2 separate regions of the Homo sapiens genome follow, and region 1 is linked to region 2. Evidence: promoter capture Hi-C in human tissues and cell types (Jung and others, 2019). All regions are on one chromosome and are shown on one strand. Each heading gives the region's core, a stretch centred on a gene start or on the middle of the fragment in contact. The rest is flanking DNA. Distances are from core to core; before and after follow the strand shown. Region 1 overlaps LINC01679 (long intergenic non-protein coding RNA 1679). Region 2 holds the start of SIK1 (salt inducible kinase 1).

Region 1 (6,201 bases), core at 3,643-6,142, 67 kb before region 2:
AGCATATGCCACTCTACAAAATACATGCAAAAATGTGCTATTTATTCAAGGACTGAACTTGAGTAACATGATTATTTCACAAAAGACCCTGGCACTCAAGGCAGGCAGTGGTGAGCCGGCAGCCCCCTCGGCGAACACAGCTGGCCCAGGCAGCTTGGAGCAGCAGTAGGAAGACTCCCTGCTCGCTGTAGACCTGAGCTCAAGCCAGAGGAGCCAGGCTTCCGAGCACCGGGGCCCTGAGGCCGCTGGAGAGGGTGGCTCTCCCACCCCTGGAGTTCCCCAGAGACCTCGTCTGGGGCCGGCGCCTATGCCTGCTTATTTGGCCATAATGAATGGGCACTCCCTGGAGCAGATGTGCCTAATAACAGTCCAGCAAGACTGCCTCAAGAGCCACCTCTGGGACACACTTTAAAGCCACACTGGCCACAAGGGACGCTGGTGATCCCGTGGTCTGCAGAGCTACCTGCTCAGTCTATTTATGTCACCTCACTCCCAGCCAGCCAGGGGAGGCCAGGGGAGCCCCTCGATGACTAATGTCACAGCTGCCACCAGGGACAGGCCCTGCAGCAGCCTGGAGGCCTGATGTGTCCATACCAACGATGGCCGTCAGCAGGGGCTGTGTGGAAGGACAGAGCTGCTGGGGCCTTGGGAAGACAAGAGACCGGCTGCCGCCTGTAACTGCTGGCCTGGCTGTGGGCTTTTGGCTGAGGTCTGCAGCCATGCACTGGCCACCGTGTTGTACAGGAAGAGGACTTCTCACTGGTTTCCACAGTCTGTGCACCCTGACAGCGGGTTGTCTACTGGAACCTGGTTCAACGTCTCTTGGTTGAAACCTTGGTGGTGCCAGGGCTTGAAAGCCCTTTCCCCGGAGGGCTCCCCTGTTGGCTCTGACTTGCTGTCCTCGGTAGGTGAGCCTTCCTGCCCGTCCCGTCAGCTCGAGGCCCACAGCCCCTCACCCCTCTTCCCAAGAGCACCCTGACACAGTCACACAGAGACCCGCACCGCTGACTTACGGACAGAGAAACGCGCATTGCTGACTCTGAGCACAGGTGGCCTGGCTCCTGCACAGACCCCCCACCAACCCAGTCTCTGGGCACACACTTCAAAGAGCCTGCCAGGGTTAATGCCACTTCAAGAAACCGGTGGCCTGGGAGTCTAGAATCTTCTGGCTATCAGTCAGCGGTGCCTGCCTGTAGGAGCCCAGGCCCTTAGCAAACTCCTAGGCTCTGTGCTTTCCCACAGCGAATCTTTAGCACTAAGATTCAGCTCCCAGCCTTTCATCGGTTGTGTATGTCTTTCCTGGCCCAAATAATATCGTGGTGGGACACTAGATAGGAGCCTGTCCCCAAATAAATGAGTTGCAACAGTAACTAGTTAGTTACTTGTAATTAAACACACAGAGACAGACTATTATTATTATTATTTTGAGACGGAATCTCGCTCTGTCACCGAGGCTGGAGAGCAGTGGCGCGATCTCAGCTCACTGCAACCTCCGCCTCCCAGGTTCAAGCGATTCTCCTGCCTCAGACTCTGGAGTCGCTGGGACTACAGGTGTGCACCACCAGGCCTGGCTAATTTTTGTATTTTAATAGAGATGGGGTTTCACTAGATGATTTACCCCTTTTAAAAACAATGCACTTGGCTGGGCGCAGTGGCTCATGCCTGTAATCCCAGCACTTTGGGAGGCCGAGGTGGGTGGATCCCTGAGGTCAGGAGTTCGAGACCAGCCTGGCCAACATAGTGAAACCCCGTCTCAAAATAATAATTTTGAATCTCGCTCATCAGAGCGAGCTTCTGTCTCAAAATAATAATAATAATAATAATAATAATAATAATAATAATAAAATGCACTTACAAGGAAATCAGCAAAGCTAGACCCCCACCTACTCCCGCCCCAACACCTTTAAGAAGAAAGATGCCCTCAAAGAAGGGGGGTGTCCAAAAAGGGCAGGACAAGAGCTCCCCAGGCCACATCGCTTTGGGACGTGGGGCGGGGGCTGCAGGCTCTACACAGCTTCAGGTTTCTCAGGGCTCCACCATACATCGGTTCCAAAGGCCCCTCTGCACAAGGAGACTGTCTCCTGCATGTATGAGTTATCTTCTTGCTTTGCCTAACAGGGTATTATAGCTTCGATGTCTTTCGTCACTGGCACAGAGGTTTTCTAACATCCGTCTTCGTGGCCTCCTGGTCCGGTGGCAAGCATCCCAAGCTCCGCTTCACAGATGAAAAAGCTGAGAGGTTAATTAAACCGTTTGTTGTCCCACGCAGAGTCAGCTTTGGGGCTGGGAGCCACCACAGGACCTGGCTCCCCACGACACCGGCTGAGCCCGGAAGCAGCTGAAGGTTCCAGGACCCTCGGGGCAGCTCCCAGGCCGGCGAGGAAGAAGCCAGGGTGAAATTTGCGGAATGGATTTGTTTCCACTCTTGGAATTCGTGATCACTTTGCTCCTCTGAGTCTCTAGGAATTAGCAATTGTGCCATCGACCAAATTAAGGTGCAAATTATTTGTATTGTTAAACGACTCCAGTTATTACTTGGAGAAAATTTTGCACTTCAATTAACAAAAGCACACATGGGGCAGTTTCTGAGCAAAGCCAGATTTTATAACACTCAGAAGAATGAGGTCCGGCCCCGGGCCTCGCCGCCCTCCTCCTGGCTTTCAGCTCAGCCTGTCCCCTGGCAGTGCCAGCAGCTTATCCGCAGGTCCCCGAGGCCACCCGTTCCCTTCGCACCAGAGCTCTCCCCTCTGTTCTTTGAGAAGCAGGAAGCTAGATGGATCCATCTCAAGGGGGATCCCCCAGAAGCAAAGCCTGAGAGAAGAGCTCTTGTGAAAGTGATTTACTGGGGGAATGGTCTGGGTTTTATGGGGTGAATTGCATCCCTCAAATTCCCATGTTAAAGCCCTAACCCTCAGTGCCCCAGAATGTGGCTGTTTTTGAGACAAGGTCTTTCAGAGGTGATTAAGGTAAATGAGGTCACTAGGGTGGGCCCAGATCCAGTATGACTGGTGTCCTTATAAGAACAGGAGGAGAAGACACACGGGGATGCCAGGGGCCTGCTTGCCCAGAGGGACAGCCCTGAGACAGGGCAGCAAGAGGGTGGAGTCTGCGTGTCCTGGAAGGTGGGTGGGGGAGTGGGGGAGAAAGCAGCCTTGGGGGCCTGGATCCTGGACCTCCAGCCTCCAGATGGTGAGAAATCAGGTCTGCTGTTGAAGGCCTCAGGGTGTGCTATTTCAGTTTAGTGGCTCAAGCCAACTAAGACCAGGGGAAGGGGCTGGCAGCCAGGGAAGACGGCTAAGCCAAGATGTGGGCGGGAGGGGAGCAGCGGCAGGGTCCTGGGGCTAGGAGCCTGAGCTACATGCCAGGTGGGACCACCCGTCCCAAAGACTCACGGCTGTGAGCCCCTAGCAGCTTACGGTTGCAGTGGGTGATGAGTCCTGGGGAGAGGGATGGGAGTGGAGACCCTAACAGCACCTGCCCCTCCGCATTGGACGCTCAGCCAGCAAGATCAATGCAGAACTCACGGAACAGCCAACCACCAATCACCGATCAGCCAACACCCTGGCAGAATTATCTCAGCATCTGGATGTTGGCACCACAGGGACCTCAGGCTGCAGAGAACAGGCTGGCCTATGAACGGAGACGGTGCCTGAGCTCGTGGCTGCAGAGGACAGGCCAGCCTGCGAGTGGAGACGGCACCCGAGCTCGCGGCAATGTTGCGGGGAAGCCAAGACCAACCCCTGCCCGTGCCCGGTTTCCCCGAGGCCCCGTGTCCTCAGAGCGCGTCTCGTGGTTCCGGGCTCACTGGCTTCTAAGTCTTCTCCTTCTGTCCTTCTGTCTCAGTCTCAGCCTTCACTCTTCCTTCTCTCAGGGAGAAAAATAAACCTCTGTGGCTGGCGTTTGCAAAAGGGAGAGACTCTTCCTGAGGAAATAAAATAGATTTCAGTCAATGAATATGCAAACTTGAGGCAGGCCAACACCCAGGAGTCAGGGCTGGGAGACATTGGAGCCCAGCAGCCCCCTGGCCCGACGCCCACACAAAGCCCATTTCAGCCAAAGGTATCAGGTTGTTCACTGTGTAAACACACACCACACACACACACACACACACGATAAGCAACCATTTTGGGGGGCAAGTACTGAAACTCAAAACTTGTTAGCTTTCAAGACCTGAATTCAGCTGCAAGAGGCTTATCCTGGCTTTTACATTGCAGCATGGTTTTTAATTTTATTTTCTACATTTTTTTAAAATCAGGCAGCCTCCAGAATCACAGAAGATTCAGAGAAACTCCCAACAGCATGGTATTTTAAAGCAGGAAACAGGTCTTGGCACTTTTTTGACACCATGGAGTCCTGAGTGGGTGGTGGCCATCACGCTGGGTGCAGACCCGAGAGCAGAACCTGGGGTCTGCAGAGAACCTGAGCCGGCACCCAGAGTGGCGGGGGAGGCCGTGCCAGGAGAGCCAGCCTTCCATAGAGCTTGGAGAGGCTGGTGTCACAGGGGAAATGAAAACAGGACTTCAAAGAGGGAGCGGGCAGAAGCCCCTGCAGGGGATTTTCTGGTTCCTAACCTGGAACAGGCACCGGTTCTGAGGCACACAGCACGCAGCCTCTGCCTTCACCATGTGCTGTCCACACGTCCCGAGCCCCTGGCTGCCCAAAAGAGAGTCACCTGCCCGGCTAAACCCACACCCCAACCCTCCCTGTCACTGGCTGCTGCTGGGGGTCCATTCACCTCAACCCCATGCTTAGCAGTGACCACCCTGGGCTCTTGTAATGGATCCTCATGTCAGCCACTGTGTGAGAACCTTTCCCCGCAGTGTTATCCCAGTCACATGAATCAGGCTCTGAGTGAACGCGTGTATTCCTTGGGTGCCTACTTAGAGCAGAAGGAAAGCAAAGATGCTCACCGGGTAGCCAGGAGCGCCGCTTCCCTGCCCATGCGCCATGGTGTGTGTGTGTGAGCTCAGGGCACGCGGGCACACACGTGTCCGTGGTTCCCACAGGAGGAGCAGGGCCCTCCTGAAACCCAAGAGCCACATCCCCAGGAGCCTCGGGCAGATGAGCGGGAGGTACCTGGGAGCTGGAGACAGGGCCGCCCCTCGCGAGGACGGGCTTTTCCGCCTCACTTCTGCCTTAGCGGCATTGATACCACGCGCATTCACCTCTCCGTGCCTCGGTTTTCTCACCCATAAAGTGGGGGCTCGCTCTGCCTGCCCAGTTGCTGTCAGATTGGGCCAGGCCTGTACAAGCCCACATGGGGACCCCTGGGTGACTGCGCTCTCCCACCTCCCCTCCCACCCTTCCCGCTGCGGGACTCCACACACCAGGCCCACCGTCACCCCCTGCTCTCAGTCTCCAGGCACAGCCAGGTGTGGGCGGTGCATGGCGGGCCCAGCGGTCAACCGCGGCAAAGGTGGTTCCCAGGTCCCTGTGTAGCGGGGGTCCCGTAGCCCCATTGACTGCAGGTCTTGGCTGGGCCAAGGCCATAGAGCAGCATGGCCAGCACTCCTGTTCCATCCTCTGCATCTCTGCTTCAATTGCAAACAACAGCCACAGTTCACATCTGGATCTGTGTGGTGCCCTTCAGTTTAAAACCCCTGCCCAGAGGCCATCTCCTTTGAAACTTCCCAGGCAGGTGTCAAAACGATCCTCCCTCCACATGTCACAGAAATGCAGCAGCAAGAAGCCCGAGGCCTCCAGGAGGAGCTGCGGGCTGGCCCCACCCACAAGCAGCTGCGGGCTCACAGTCACGGTCCTCTGAGGACAGGCTTGTGCTTCCCACTCCCCGGTGAGCGGGCACCACGGATGTCAGTGCCGTGACTGGCCTTTGTGCTTTGGATAAACTCCATGTGGAATGGAAGGAAAGATGGGAGCATTCTAGAACCTGAGCATTTTGTAGCAAGAGCACTGTTCTCACCGCTGATTTCCAATGTCCAGGGCAGAAAGATGAAGAGATATCGTTTTCCCTTAAATGGGAGTGAAGGACAGAGGCAGCGTGGTGGCCGGTGATGGACAGACCCGTGTCTGCTGGCAGGACACCCCGGCCGCCTCCGTCTCATGGATAGAGCAAGCAGTTTTCTCTATGACGTGGCTTCTTTAGGAGGCAGCTCGGCTGCCCAGATCCCTCCTTATTTTTTAGTTCTCAAGCCCTGTAGGGTGTTTTCGGTCGCAGTTGTTTGGGCTGTGGTCCTGACCCTC
Region 2 (6,431 bases), core at 1-2,500:
GAACTAAAAACGGTTACTATTTACCCACCACGACAATCAAGCCTGGAGCAGTGAATCTGCATGGGGTCCACCCGCCAAAGGTCGGGTCGCCCCGGGTCCAGTGGGGAGGCCCCGCCGGCTGGGTCCCACCGCCCCCACGCACCTGCGTTTTGGTGACTCGATGCCGCGCCAGCTTCACCACCGCGAAGTTGCCTTTGCCCAGGGTCCGCTCGATGTCGTAAAAACCCACCCGGAGGGGCTTCTGCTGGCCCTGACCCTGGCCCGCGGGGTCCGCGCTGAACTCCGACATGATAACCATGGCTCCGCGCGCACCTGCGGGGCCGCACAGAGCTCAGAGCCCACCAGCGCCCCCGCCGCCCGCGGTCGGCTCCATCCGTGCCCGCGGAGCCCCCAGTCCCCACGGGACGCAGGGACCTGCTCCCACGCCTGTCGCCCCCACTCTATCCACGGGCCCCTCCAGCCCCGTGGGAGGTGTGGACCCGCCCCCGCCGCCCGCTCCACCCGGACCCCCGACCCTCTTGAGCCCCGCGGGGCGCACGGACCCGCTCTCATAGAGGCCCCTGCCGCCCGAGTCCGGTTCCGTCCCGATCCCGGGACCCCCTGAGCCGGGATTCCACACTCGCCTCCCGCCGCCCGCTGTCGGTTCCGTCCCCACCCTCGACCCCTTTAGCACCTCTGGGCGCGGACCCGCTCCCACACCTGGCCCTGCCACCCGAGGTCGGCTCGATCCGGATCCCAGGACCGTCCCCTGCCCCGCTCCCACACCCTGCCCCCGCCGCCCGCGATCCGTCCGGTCCCCACCCCCGACATCCCAGGCACCTCGGGGATCGCGGACCCGCCCCCCACACCCGGTATCTCCGCCCGCGGTCGGCTCCAACCTGACCCCCGGCTCCCCAGCCCCTGAGCCCCGCGGACTCACTCCTACCCCGGCCCCCCAACAAAGGGGAGCCCGAGGGCGGCCAGGCCGCCAACCCCGCCCGCGAACCCCGCGCGCGCAAGGCCAGGGACCCTGCGCGGTGGCTGCAACCCCGAGCCCCGGCCCGGCGCCCGCGCGGAGCCCCCACGGCGGCCACCTCCGCCCGCCCGGAGCCCGCCGCTGCCGCCGCTGCCGCCGCTGCCGCCGCCTCACCTCCGCCGCCACCGGAGCGCCCAGGCCAGGAAGCCGCCCGCTCGGCCGCTGGCGCTGCTCGGGTGCCTACTGCTCCGGCTGCCGCCGCCGCTGCTGCTGCCTCCGGGGCCGCGCCGCATGTCAGCCCGGAGCCGCCGCGCTCCGCCGCACGCGGCGCCCGGCCCCGCCCCGGCCCGCCCCGGCCCGCCCCCCGTAGTCCCCGCCCCCTGCCCCGCCCCCGCCGCCCGGGCGGGGGCCGCCCATTGACGTCGCTTTGACGCCAGAGCGACGCGCGGCCGAGCGCCGGGCGGAGGGAGAGCGGGAGATCGGGCGGTTGCCAAGAGACTGGCGGCTCTGACGCGCGCGGGATGAGGCCGTTGCCCTGGCGACCGCGGGCCGGTGACGTCAGGGGCGCCCGCCGCCCGAGGCCCGCCCGCCTGCGCTCCGCCGGGCGCCCCCTCCCGGGCGCTGGGGGCACTGCGGGCGGCCCCACCGCCGAGGGCGCGCCCGCCCCTCCACGCTCGGGCACTCGGGCCGGGTCCCGCGGGCGCCTTGTGCTCGCTCCCTCCAGGAGGGGACGGCTCTCGGGCAGGGGTCGCCGGCCCCTCCACGCGGCCTGCGTTCGTCCAGACTCAGAGCCTCGGGACGTGCGGGGGCCCGGGGGCCTCGCGGGCTCGCGCGTGGGGCTGGCGGCGCGGATGCCCTGGGGCGCTGCAGACCCCGAGAGGCCGCTTGCCCGCGGGGACGTCAGCCGCTTTTGCTGTTAAAATCTGAAATGTTCAGCAAGTTAGAAACTTGAAACCTAAGGAAGCGTGACCGGCCGCTCTGGAAGCCCCCGCCGCGCGGCCGGTCCCGGCCCCGGCCCTCAGCGGCGCTGGCGTCTGCGCGTCCCGGGGCTGCCCCCGCAGCATGTGGGGCTGGGACCCTCTTCCCGCGCGGGCCCCGGGCGGACGCTGCGGGCGGTGACGGAGCCAGGCCGGCCGCCTGGGTAGGGGACGGGGGCGCGGGACCACTTGCTTGCCCGTGGCCGATGCCTCATCCGAACGGAAAACGTTTTCTTCAGGGGAGACAGAGGCTGTGGGCGAAGGTATTTTTTAAGCCTGAGGACCCATTTGGGAGTTAGATTCTGGATCGAGCCTAGGGTCAGTTTTCCTTGTGTTAAATAACACTACTTCACAGAAGGGGGAACGAGAATTCAGGGGAGTTGGCACAAAACTTGGAACCCTTCTCGGGAGGCTTTCCTGCCTGGACGGACGCCTGGGAGGAGGGCCCGGAGAAACGAGGATGAGCTTCTCCTCATTCGCCCGAGGGTCTGACCACAGATTTCCCAATCGCCACACACACACACACACACACACACACACACACACACACACGGGTTGTTTGGGAGTCAGTTGGTTTTCAAAGGCTTTCAAGGAAATGAAGAGTCCCAAAGTTTTCCTTAATCGTTCAGAGTGTTTTTCTTTGTCCCAGGTTTATATACCAAGAATACGGGGGAATATTTTTAGTTCCTTTCAGCTGAACAGTGTACAACTGCCTTTTTTCCTTTTGGAGGTCCCAACACCCTGTTAATCCGCTCCTAGGAGAACTAAACAAAAACAAGGCTGGACGTCGTGTCTCCCGCCTGTAATCCCAGTGCTTTGGGAGGCTGAGGCAGGAGGATCAGTTGAGCTCAGGAGTTTGAGACCGGCTTGGTTAACATAGCAAGACCTCACCTCTATAAAATACTTTTAAAATAGCCAGGTGTGGTGGCACACGCCTGTGGGGCCGGCTACTTGGGAGCCTGAGGTGGGAGGATGGCGTGAGCCTGGGAGGTTGAGGCTGCAGTGAGCTGTCATTGCACCACTGCACTCCAGCCTGAGCAAGAGAACAAGGCCCTGTCTCAAAAAAGAACAAAGATAAAAGGCGGGGTGGGGGAGAAACCAGGCCCCTGATCACACTCACCATTCAGTCCCTCAGCCTGTGACTTGAAATACTGCCCCCCGCATCCAGGAAGCAGGCTTCCCCACCCCTCCCACCCTAGCCAGAGTCTTCCAAAAGGTCTTAGGTATTTGCAAACACCTGGCTGGCTGTTTGGAAACATTGCATCAGCACCAAATAAAAACTGCAGCCAAAACTGCCTCCGCAGAACAGGTCCCCAAACTCAGGTGCACTTGACCTTTCACCCTGACCCAGCCCTGAGCTTCCAAAACCCAGAACAGCCCTGTGCCAACCATGGCCATCCTGTTTTCCCTTCCCTGGGCCCGTGGGCAAGGAGCTCGCTCTGCAGAGAAAGGCAGGAAGCACAGAGGAAAAGGCCAAGCTTGGAACGGCTGTCCCGTCTCCCCACTGGGGGAACCCCTGGCACCCTCATAACTAAGTCTGTGCTTCAACCTGGTCTCTGTTACCCAATGTCTTTTGTTGTTGTTTGTGTCCTTGACCCCCCGAGGCTGTATTTCCTCTCAGAAGCTTTGATTTCTTTTCTGTTTTCTGGTCTTCCGTGCCTTTAACACGAGGAAAAATAAAACACATGGTGTGAGTGTAAGGATGGTACAAGCAAATGATTGGAGAAGCTCCTCACTGAACATAATGGAAGGAATGCTCCCAAAGTCTGCAGGAACGGTACTTTATTATTATGGTTTGCATATTATTACAGATTTGTGGAAAACGGCAAGTCAGTTTTCCTTTCCACATGGACTTTCTTCAGCTTGTCTTATGATTGCCGTGTTTCTGGAGTTCATCTTGTTTTTTAGGCCTTAAGACTGGAAACCCCAACAGGAAATGGGTCCATTTATTATTCATAGTTGTAACGCTGGCCACTGGCATGTCACAAAACTCTCAAAATCAATTGATAAACACAGAGAATGGAGCGTGGGGCAGCATTTTTGCAAAGGGATGGGTGCCCAGCTGGCCCCAGTGCCGCCCTCTGTGAGGAAGGAATCTCCCAGTGCAGCCAGGAGTCAGACGAGTTCCTCTTCCCGACCCTACCCTCCCATCTTCGACGCCTAAGGCCCTTCCCTGTCTTCCTGGCTTTGCTTCAGGTGGTTTTGTACTTTTTAAATTTTGTTTTGGTTTGTTTAGGCTTCAGCCTAGCGGCTTTAGGTGCCAGAAAATCAGATTAACCACTGCAGCGGCATCCTTCTCAGGGACCCGGGGGCCACGTTGGTCATTTTGCCCCATTGTATCTGGAGAGCTTGACAGACAGACATGTGTGCACTAGGTCAGGAAGCCACGGCCCTGGCCTGGGAAGAGGGCAGGTAGGAGAAAAGCCCCCAGCCCCCTCCACCCTCAGGGAATGGCCCAGTTGTCCACAGGTTAAGTCAAGAATCCCCCGCGAACAGGTCAAACCAGAGACTGCCCAGTCCCAGCGTCCGCCCCCAGGGCATTGCTTCCTTCACCTCCTACACTTGGCTCCCTGTGGTTCCGTGGCTGCCACAGTTGTGTGGATCCTACCGGGCCCAGGGCCCCTCCCCATCTCAGACAGCACCCACTTTCAGGCTAGGCCTTCCACGGGCTGCTTAAATGGACCACGAAGGCCGGCAAAGCAGCAGAAACGTGCCTGTTCACGGGCCAGTCGGCCCTCCCCGCTCCAGCCCTCTAGGGTTTCTGGTTCCGGTTTCTGTCGCTGCCGTTAGTGAGGAATTATTCATGTGGCCAATGCGTTTTCTTGACATTTAAGCAGGGCTGTGGCCGATATCAAGGCTGAGGACCCAAGAGGCCTTTGGGTGTCTGTGTCCCTGAGCCATATGCTGAGGTCGGACGGCGGGGGAGGGGGGTGCAGGAAGGGGCCAGCCCCAGCGAGAGTCAGCCAGGCCCCAAACAGAGCCAGGGGTTCCCCCGGGGGGGAGTGCTCACTTAGGAAGAGCACCATGGACAGCCTGGCAGGAGGTCACCCTGTGCTGAGCAGGCAGCGCTGGAGTAAACCACCTGCCTCTCTGTAGGAAGAAGGAAACCGCATCCGCAAACGGAGCAAAGGTCCCCAGAGGCAGAGCAGAAGCCTCTGGGATGCTGCAGCTTTGTGCAGACACTGGGGACCAGGACTGGAGCAGGTGCTGGCCGTGCTCTTTATCCTGGGCACTCTGCCAGGGCCACACGGAGCGTGGCTCCCGGGAGATGGAGACGTCTGAGTGTCAGCTCAGGTCTCGGTGTTTCCAGGTGACATGCTGGCTGCTAGTGTAGAGCATGGTAAACCATCTTTTTTTTTTTTGGTTACTATTTACTTATGCAAAATAATGTGAGTTTCTGCCATTTGCAACAAGTGTGCCAGCTGCAATGAGTCAGCGGGTGGACACAGGTGAGCATGGCCAGACTGTGCCAGAACATGGTGACAGACAGACATGCTTCGAAGTTCACTGTGGGAAGGGACAGGTCCCCAGAGAGAGGTGAGACGGTGCAACGCGAGGGTGAGTTCGGAGTCATCCTCCAGATGTCCACAAAGGCTCGAGAGGCCCTGCTGTGTGTCAGGCACTGCGTGAAGGTTGTGGGCACAGTAGGAGGGACACAAGACACCTTCTCTCGAGGACCGTTGGTTCCAGTTGCGGAGACAGTAACAGCATAAGATGATGAGTAAGAAAAGAATGCTGGCAGGAAAGTGGCCATGGAGGGAACTGCTTCCGGGCCTCTCCGTGGGATTTGCCAGGCGTGGACTGAGCGAGGACCTTCCCTGAGAACACCAACTGCTCCAGGAGAGAGAAGAGGTGGAGCCCCGGCGGGGGGCATGGGGCAGGAGGCAGCCACCCACACCTTCCCTCTCTGAATGCTGAGCAGAGGCTCTCAGCAGAGGGGAAGAAGAGCAGAGGCCACGATTGGGAAGACAGACCCAGTGGGGGTCCTTGGCGCCGTCCACATCCATCTGCAACCTGCTGCCCAGCGCCTGCCTGCCCGGGGTGTGCACAGAGCAGTGTGGTCTGTCCCGGCTTCACGGCCTGACACGGCCAGGCGAGGATGACAGGGAAAGGGAGGCAGGGACTTGGGGCTGTTGGAGCCAAGCTGAGGAGCAAGGAGCTGCGATGGGAAGCGGGTGGCAGGAAGGAGCGTGAGGCCTGTGGGTGGAAGGTCTCTGGCCTTGGAGATTGAAGCGTTTCACTTGTGCATCTCACAGCCCAGAGAAGCCAAGCCCGGACCATGGGGGAGAGAGGAGGACCCCCGTCTCAGGGCGGGCTGAGGAGACGCTCTCTCCACGGCTTCCGGATGGGTCTCCCTCCATCTCAGCTGCATCTATGGGAAAACGATGAAATGCTCCCTCCACTGCCGGGCCTTCTCTTATAAAGCAGGTTTCTTCGAAGTATAAAAATTAATAGAAAAGGTTCCATAGAAAATCAAGAAAGTAAGTATGTAAAGATGA

Evidence for each region. Contacts are between HindIII fragments. The study calls those that stand out against the background at their distance.
Region 1: a fragment that was not itself captured here is called in contact with the fragment with the promoter of SIK1 in region 2 in 4 of the 25 tissues and cell types used here (H1 embryonic stem cells, IMR-90 fibroblasts, hippocampus and 1 more).

What each region holds. Positions count from the first base shown.
Region 1 is chr21:43,355,565-43,361,765 of GRCh38, forward strand. LINC01679 (long intergenic non-protein coding RNA 1679) reads right to left here. Exons shown (of 2, transcript NR_131902.1): 1 at 5,328-6,201; 2 at 2,491-3,922. Among named protein-coding and RNA genes, the nearest start is that of LINC01679, 3.7 kb to the right of the region's middle. RefSeq lists enhancers at 328-377, 598-767, 4,147-4,704, 4,705-5,261, 6,045-6,194. The HindIII fragment of the contact is 6,310 bases long and covers 1,738-6,201 here.
Region 2 is chr21:43,425,881-43,432,311 of GRCh38, forward strand. SIK1 (salt inducible kinase 1) reads right to left here and starts at 1,251. Exons shown (of 14, transcript NM_173354.5): 1 at 1,130-1,251; 2 at 143-312. The coding sequence starts at 298. It overlaps LOC124905029 (a long non-coding RNA gene), which reads left to right and starts at 3,704. Exons shown (of 3, transcript XR_007067891.1): 1 at 3,704-6,431. RefSeq lists a silencer at 4,849-5,143. The HindIII fragment of the contact is 13,239 bases long and covers 1-6,431 here.